3 separate regions of the Homo sapiens genome follow, and all the other regions are linked to region 3. Evidence: promoter capture Hi-C in 16 types of primary human blood cells and fetal thymus (Javierre and others, 2016). All regions are on one chromosome and are shown on one strand. The core of a region is centred on a gene start or on the middle of the fragment in contact, and the rest is flanking DNA. Distances in the headings are between cores, read along the strand shown.

Region 1 (2,700 bases), core at 145-2,644, about 40 Mb before region 3:
AGCAAAACAGTTATTTCTCTGCATTCACAATTCTGATTTCATGTATTTCTCTGTACATGTTTGATCATTATCAGGCCATTCTGTTTAAGTTTGAAACTAAGCATTTTAAGAAGTCTTGCCTCAGTTATTTCAGTTTTCAGGTGACTAGAGAATTTCAGGCAACAGTGCCCTTTGCAATTACCTTTTTGATGATTAAGGTGACTATTTTTATTTCTTGTTAAGCATCAGAAGATGTCAGCATTCATCTTTTGGGAGTCCAGTTACAAGGTGGAACTAGAAGGTGTTTTCAGCAATAGCCAGAGCACTGGAGGAAAAATAATTGACAAATATTTATACTTTTAAATTGTTTTGAACTGTATTTACATACATCATGTTTTATCAGGTACCCACCAACTTTATACTTTCTGCCTTCAGATAGAGTTTCTAACATTTTCTAGTTTGTCAGTTTTAAAATATAAAATTCTTTTATGTTTTTAAACCGTCAACCAAGAAGTCAAGACCACTGTCCCCTGCTGAGTTAGGCAATCACTTAAAACTCCAAAGAACTCCAGGCTGAGGAGTTCTTTTGGTGCTGAACAGTGGTCTGACAACAGGTGCTAGAATTAAGGTGTGGGAAAAAAAAAAAAACAGCCAGGAAGGACAAGATCTCCAATTTGTGAAGCTTATGATACAGCTGAAACCAGTCTGATCAATTTTATGCTACCTGTCACCAAGAAATTAACTCTAAATTTTTGAATGCTTGTTGGCATCTGTCAAATCAATACTGAAAGGATGCATTTCGGCTTTTAACCAGTTTGGTTCTGATCATTGCAACCTCTGTGCTTTTATAATTCAAAGAACAAGGATAGCTTTCTTCGGTATCTTTTAATATAAGAACACTGAATTTTGGCTTGAAATATTGTGACTAAATTGCACAATCTCTGGCTATTAGCACTGTTCACTACATTAACATGCAAGAGAGAGAGAAGCCTTGTTACATTTCCTGCTATTTAACAAACTGTCCAATTAGGTCAGCAAGCCTGTTAGGGCCTTCACTGCTACGCCCCTGGCCCCAAAACAGAGAGCAAGACAGTTGTCCAGAGAATTTAGATATGAGTTAAGAGCTGCCAGATTTATTTTAAGGCATGTAGAGAATCTCATAATCTATGTGAAAGTCACTTGCCAAAAAGGTTTTGGTTATGAAAGTGAATGTTATATATTTAATATTAAGTGAACCTCCCGTGCCTTTTAAAAAATACCAACATTATGAAATTTAAAAGCTTAAATATATTTGCCTAGTTGATAAAGAGGCTGTGGAACAACTGAAGGAGAACTTTCAGACCCTAAAACAGTTATATTACTTAGATGTTAAAATTTTCTAGTGGGCTGTGCAATTGCTGGGTTGTCCCCCCAAACATATTTTAATATGTTATTTAAAATGATTTTACCCAAGCCTAAGTATTAAAGTATATGTGCAAAAACAGTTGTGAGCCATTCTATTATGCTTCAGTATGTTTTTCTTGTGGCCTAATTACAGAAGACCAAGCTTTAGAAACTTCTTGTCTAAATCATTTCACATGCAAGTCTTATCCTTTCTACAACACTGATAAACGTAGAGCCTTGGCAAAAATAAATTTTGTCATTGTGCCTCAGCGTCAGTAGCAGAGTTGTTGTATGTGTCTTTGAGAAAAGGAAATGCAATTTTATATGCCAGGTCAGCATGAGGTATGAAGAAAGCTCTAGGGGAATACAGGGAATGTGATCATTAATGTACTTCTCTTACAACAGTTAATGACACTGTGCAGGCAGTAATGAGTGTCTGTCTGTCTGCCTTCCGGATCGTGACCCTCACCTAAGTACAAAGTCTTGCACATGGGGGAAGAAAACTTACATTTATTTTGTCTTCCCTTATTTGCTTGGCCACAGTGCTAAGTGCTTTAAATATGTGATTTCATTTAATTCTGAATGTTATGCTACCTGGTAGACAATATCCCCTTTTTCTTAGCTGAAAATAAAGCTCAGAGTGGTGTAAGTACAGCCATAGGCCACATAACATTTCACTCAACAGGGTAACTGTATATATGACGTGGATCCATGGAATTATACCAGATTTTTTTCCGTATCTTTTCTGTGTTTAGATACACAAATACCCTTGTGTTACAGTTGTCTACCGTATTCACTGCAGTAACATGCTGTATACAGGTTTGCAGCCTTGAAGCAATAGACTGTACTATATATACCTGAGGTGTGTAGTAGGCTATACCATCTAGGTTTTTGTAAGTAAACGCTAAGATATTCACACAATAACAAAATTGCTTGAGGAGGACACCTTTCTCAGAACTTACCCCTATCATTAAGCAATACATAACTGTAATTCACCTAAAGTCCCATAGCTGGTAAGTAACAAATTGAACATTGAAACCTGTTTCAAAGTCAATGCTCTCTCTACCTGTTATATGACATATAGAATATTGCAAATAAATGCTTGTTGATTCAGAAAGCTAAATTAATTGAACGCCACATTATGATATTTCTCTTTTTTGAGAGAAGGTCTTGCCTTGTCACCAACGTTGGAGTGCAGTGGTGCAATCATAGCTCACTGCAGCCTCCAGCTCCTGGGCTCAAGCAGAATTCTCCTACCTCAGCCTCCGGCGTAGAGCAGCTAGGTGCACAGGCACATGCCACCACGCCTGGCTAATTTTGTTTTTTTGTAGAGATAGG
Region 2 (2,700 bases), core at 3-2,502, about 22 Mb before region 3:
ACTAGGCTGGGTGCAGTGGCTCACACCTGTAATCCCAGCACTTTGGGAGGCCCGGCGGGTGGATCACCTGAGGTCAAGAGTTTGAGACCAGCCTGACCAACATGGAGAAACCCCGTCTCTACTAAAAATACAAAATTAGCCGGACGTGGTGGCGCATGCCTATAATCCCAGCTACTCATGAGGCTGAGGCAGGAGAATCGCTTGAACCTGGGAGGTGGAGGTTGCGGTGAGCCAAGATTGTGCCACTACACTCCAGCCTGGGCAACAAGAGTGAAACTCTGTCTCAAAAAAAAGAAAAGAAAAGAAGAGGCAAGACTGGTAAAAGGAAAGCCAGTCTCAATTTGTTCCACTCTCCCCTACTTCACTGTGTTCCAATCACAAGGGACTTCTCTGAGTTCCTTGAATTGCAAAACACCAAGCTCTTCCCCGCTCAGAGCCTTTGCACTTGCTGATCCCTCTGCCTGGACTACTCTTCTCTTGGCTGTTACACAGCTTCCTTCTTCTCAGCCTTCTTCAAGCATTTCAGACCAAACATTTCTTTCTTTCCCTAATCAATCTAATGTATCAATTTTCCTCCATTATTCTCTCTTGTAGCATCCTGGGGGTGGGGGTGTTCTATTTATCGCAATTTGACATTTTATTCTTATTTGTATTATGTGATCAGTAACTGTCTTCCCCATTAGGCTGTAAACACCATGAAGGTAAGGTTGTGTCTGCCCCTGTTCAACACCATGTCCCAGCACTCAACACACTGCCTGGCACGGTGCTAACACTCAATAAACACCGGATTTATGAGACTGTGAGTACAGCCGAGATGATCATGGCTTAACCAAGTAAGTAGCAGCAAACCTGGGAAAAAGAAACTAATGCTACACGAAGTAAACAGGATAGGTCTTGAGGCAGAATATGGCCTGGAGGCAGGGAACTTAAGGACTTGCTAGAATTAAATCAAATGAAACACTTCAGCTATGATAAGACACATCCTTTTTATTTATTTATTTATTATTTATTTGAGTCTTGTTCTGTCGCCCAGGCTGGAGTGCAACGGCGCGATCTCGGCTCACTGTGACCTCTGCCCGGTTCAAGTGATTCTCCTGCCTCAGCCACCAGGGGATTACAGGCGCATGCCACCACGCCCAGCTAATTTATTTTTATTTTTATTTTTAGTAGAGATGGGGTTTCACCATGCTGACCAGGCTGGTCTCGAATTCCTGACCTCAGGTGATCCGCCCGCCTTGGCCTCCCAAAGTGCTGGGATTACAGGTGTAAGCCACAACTCCCCGCCGAAATATCCTCTTTATTTACATAGGGCATACAATGCCTTTGTAACTTTTAACCTATTCATTTACATAAGGCATACACCAACTAACCAATGGAAACCTCTAGAGGGTATTTAACCCCCAGAAAATTCTATAACAGCGCTCGTGAGCCCCCATGCTCAGCCTGCTCCCACCCTGTGAAATGTACTTTCGTTTTCAATAAATCTCTGCTTTTGTTACTTCATTATTCCCTTGCTTTGTTTGTGCCGTTTTGTCCAATTATTTGTTCAAGACACCAAGAACCTGAACACCCTCCACTGGTAACAGTTTGAGACAAGTATCAGAATCAGTTCCACCTGTACCAAGTTCTAACGGCACTTCTAGCTGTATAGCCTGGGCAGGTCAACCACCTTTTATCCACCATGCTCTCCGTATTCCCCTCGTAAAATGATAACGACACCCTTGCAGCTTGGCTCAGCGAATGTCCTCAAACGCACAAACAACGCTAGGGCTAAATGAGCACACCCGGTAGAGCAGCAGCCGCTCCTCGAGGGCGGAAGTCACAGCCTGATCTAAGTACGGTGGGTAAAATGGATCCCCCATATGCGCAGCGCCATGGTCCTTTGTAACCTCATAAAGTGTCCGATGAGCAGCAGGGGCTGGAGGATAATTTAGGGCCAATATCATTTGTTTCTTTTACATTATTTCGCCATTTCTCAGAATTCTAAAATTTGTTTAATTGAAATATCAGCTTGAGGGATGCTGAAAACTGTACAGAGTAAAAGAAGAATCTCTGCTGAGGGATAACCAAGAGGTAGAGATGGGAAAACGTTCATGCGCAGCACCCCCTGACGGAAGGGAGGAGCTGGTGTGGAAGATCCGCGCAGCCCCGCCTCTTTCGCGGTGGTTCCAGTCCCACTTGGGACCCCCACGCCCCGGGAGTGCTAGCGGGACTCGGAGACCTTCACGTTACTACATTGCCCAGGGGACCCCGAGGCGGGCCTGGTTCTCCTCACAAAGGGAGGGGCCGAGCCGTGACTCGCTTCCTCGCCTCGAAATGCGGGTTGTTTTAATCGAGCAGGTTTCGCCCTTCCCCATCAGCCTGTGAAGCTCCCAAAAACGTCCGGCCAACGGCACCAGTCCCATCTAATCAGCCAGGAGGAAGTAGGCGCCGCAAAGCCCCCTGCGAAATGTAGTTTCCAGGAAGACTTCTGGGAAACAGAGTCCGAGGCAGGCGACAGAGCGCTCTTGCAGCCAAATAGAGCCGGGCTAGGGGCGCGTCACGTGACCTGTGCAGCCAACTGTTCCGAGACGTGGCCTTTGCCTGAGCTGCTGTTAGGAGAGGTGCTCAGGTCTGGGGAGTAGCTCCTACCATCGCCTGGACTCGACTTCTGGACTGGCCTCCAAAAGTCGACACAGCCCCTGCGTCTTTCCTATTCCC
Region 3 (2,700 bases), core at 134-2,633:
TAACACATTTAAGGAAAATCACTTCAAAGAAACATCTTTTTAATATTTATTTATTTTGTTAGGTGGCTTTATGAAAGTGATATAAAATCTTCTCTATTTAAATTTTGAAAAGTGAGATAAAATATCTAAATAATATGGTTAATAAAGAGTTATGGCAAATACATTGATGTTGGTTATAACTGACTGCAGTTCTAGAAATCTGCATAAATCTTTTGTTGAAAGTAATATCTGCATTGGTAGACGTGATATTACTACATACATAAATATATATTTTCCCCAAACACCAAAAGAGCTTTGCAACTGTGGAAATTATCCTAACAAATGAGCTGCCAAGTCATGTCATTATACATTTGTCCAACCTCATAGAATGTACACCAAGAGTGAACCCTAATATAAACTATGAACTTTGGGTGATAATGATGTGTCAATGTAGGTTCAAGATTGTAACAAATGTACTGCTCTGGTGGAGGATATTTTTAAGAGTTGGAGGCTGTTAGAGGAGGGAAGAGGTACAATAATTGATAGCAGGAAGCTGTGGAGGGAGGAAATCTCTGTGTCTTCCACTTAATTTTGTTGTGAACCTAAAACTTCTCTAAAAATGTCTATTAAAAAAAATTCTCTTAACCTTTGCTTTTCAGTTTTTGAGGGCAGGTTAAGTATTATAACAGCTAACATCTACTGAGCATTTGTCTTTAATCCTAGTGAAACAGATGTTATTAGCCTTGTTTTATAGTTGAGGACATTGAGGCTAAGAAAATTTAACTAGAGTAATTAAGGCACACACAGAATTTAAACATGTTTCTTATCACAAGACTGAGTTGTTTTCCAGTTACTCTATTTATATTTTTTCCTAATATCTGGCTTCAAAGTACCTTCTGTTATTTTTAATTCCAAGCCTTAGAGTTAATTATTTGGGCACCTTAGAATTATTTGGGCACAACTGTCCCGAAACCAGAAACGAGGGGGCGTGGACCCAGAGACTACTAGAATGCAATGCTCGAGGCATTGCAGCCTAAAAGGGCGGCAGCTCGCCCCGTCGCATGCTGGGAATGGTAGTTTCCTCGCTCTCCCTTCTTCCCCCGCCCTCGAGCATCCAGATTGGAGCTCCGTTCTTACTCCCTTGCAGGGCGCCACGGCTCGACAGAGCCACTCGTCCTCGCCTGGTCATCCCAGTTCCGGAGGCTGACCTGGGGATGCGCCCTGGACGCCCTGCACCGCAGTCCTTGCGTCGCTGCTAGTCAGCACGGCGTTACCCACCTCATCCGCAGCTCCAGGACGCCGCACTCCACGCGCTGCCGCAAGGAGGACGCGCAGCCTGGTCACCATGGAAACGGTGCCGCCTCCGTCACGGCTCAAGCGAGAGGTCAAAGGTCAGTCCTGCAAGTTCCGCTTCCGGTTCCGAGATCCTGTTTGTTTTCTGAAAGCTTTGTGGTTTCGGTGAGCTCTCAGAGCCGATTTCTAGCGTCCGTGCCGGGGACAGGTGTCCAGAGGTCGACTGCTGCAGACATGGCGGCCTCCACCGCGGCCGGGAAGCAGCGGATTCCCAAAGTGGCCAAGGTAGGCGATCGCGAGGGGCCTTGTAGGAGGTGGCCTAGGAAAGGGGCATCCCTCAGCCCTGAGGGTGCCCGGGTTGGGAGAGAGTGTTCCCGCCGGGGAGAAGGCTCACCCTGAGAGATGGAGAGGAAGGGCAGCTGGTGGTGGGGCGCGGGCTCTTGTCATCGCGGAGCACGACCCGCGTTGGCGTGGCCTTCGTTCTGGGGTGGTTTTGCTGGGGAGTGGAGTGGGGTGGTTCGGTGAAGATTTACTGAGCCAGGCACTGCACTGGGCGCTGGGAAGCTACGCTCGTACGCTGGCCACAAGCAGTACTCAAAACACGAGTTTCTGTATAAAGACGACCTTGCTAGATGTTACCGAGAGGCAAAGTAGAATATGCCATGGGCGTGAATAAGGGGGTCGTATGAAGGGGTCCTGAAAGTAAATTTTGCTGAGGAAATGACCTTTAAGCTGAGACTTGAAGGCTGAATAGGAGTTAGCCCAGCTGACAGCGGAGGGCGAGAGTAGACGGTAGGAGTAGTATAGTATCATAAGTTAATTAAACAGTAGACTTACTATCTGGTATTTCCTTTGATAGCTAATACTTACCAAGTGCTTAATATGTGGCAGACTTTGAAGCCTTTACAGATACCCTCCCTCCAGTCTTTCTTGAGCCCGGATGACTCTCTTGAACTGGACCTTTACATAACTATTTGTCTGACTCGCAGGAGTAATGCATATAGAGCAAGTAACACTGTGTCTGGCACTTAGTGCTTATTAAATATGAGCTATCACCATTATCATCATTACTCCACATGTGGCATTAAGTAACATTTTTTATAATTCAGCTACATAAACTTTTATTGGGCATCACTGGTCCAATGGAAATATAATGCACACCACATATGAAATTTTAAATTTTCTCATATCTACATTAAAAAGTAAAAACAAAGCAAAAAAGTGAAATTAATTTTGATAATATATATTTTATTTGAGCTAATGTATCCAAAATATTATCATTTCAACATGTAATCGGTATAAAAAATGTAATGAGGTAGTTTATTCTTTTTTATACTTCATCTTCAAAACCAATGTGTATTTTACACTTACAGTCCACCTCAATTTGTACTCACCACATGTGACTCATAGCTACTGTGTTGGACAGCA

What was found. Contacts are between HindIII fragments. The CHiCAGO score rates a contact against its expected background, and 5 or more counts as called.
Region 1: a fragment that was not itself captured here is called in contact with the fragment with the promoter of CRNKL1 in region 3 in 1 of 17 cell types (activated CD4 T cells); the score reaches 5.2 in activated CD4 T cells.
Region 2: a fragment that was not itself captured here is called in contact with the fragment with the promoter of CRNKL1 in region 3 in 1 of 17 cell types (total CD4 T cells); the score reaches 7.3 in total CD4 T cells.

The regions. Positions count from the first base shown.
Region 1 is chr20:59,935,594-59,938,293 of GRCh38, reverse strand. PPP1R3D (protein phosphatase 1 regulatory subunit 3D) reads left to right here. Exons shown (of 1, transcript NM_006242.4): 1 at 1-1,631. It also overlaps a transcript of FAM217B not described here. Among named protein-coding and RNA genes, the nearest start is that of SYCP2, 3.3 kb to the right of the region's middle. The HindIII fragment of the contact is 266 bases long and covers 1,262-1,527 here.
Region 2 is chr20:41,692,709-41,695,408 of GRCh38, reverse strand. LOC124904905 (a long non-coding RNA gene) reads left to right here and starts at 1,234. Exons shown (of 2, transcript XR_007067588.1): 1 at 1,234-2,073; 2 at 2,341-2,700. RefSeq lists enhancers at 1,410-1,649, 1,870-2,089, 2,230-2,439. The HindIII fragment of the contact is 6,795 bases long and covers 1-2,700 here.
Region 3 is chr20:20,051,149-20,053,848 of GRCh38, reverse strand. CRNKL1 (crooked neck pre-mRNA splicing factor 1) reads left to right here and starts at 1,383. Exons shown (of 14, transcript NM_001278628.2): 1 at 1,383-1,557. The coding sequence starts at 1,507. It overlaps CFAP61 (cilia and flagella associated protein 61), which reads right to left and starts at 1,317. Exons shown (of 27, transcript NM_015585.4): 1 at 1,258-1,317. RefSeq lists a silencer at 909-958 and enhancers at 1,049-1,348, 1,359-1,528. The HindIII fragment of the contact is 2,238 bases long and covers 1-1,426 here.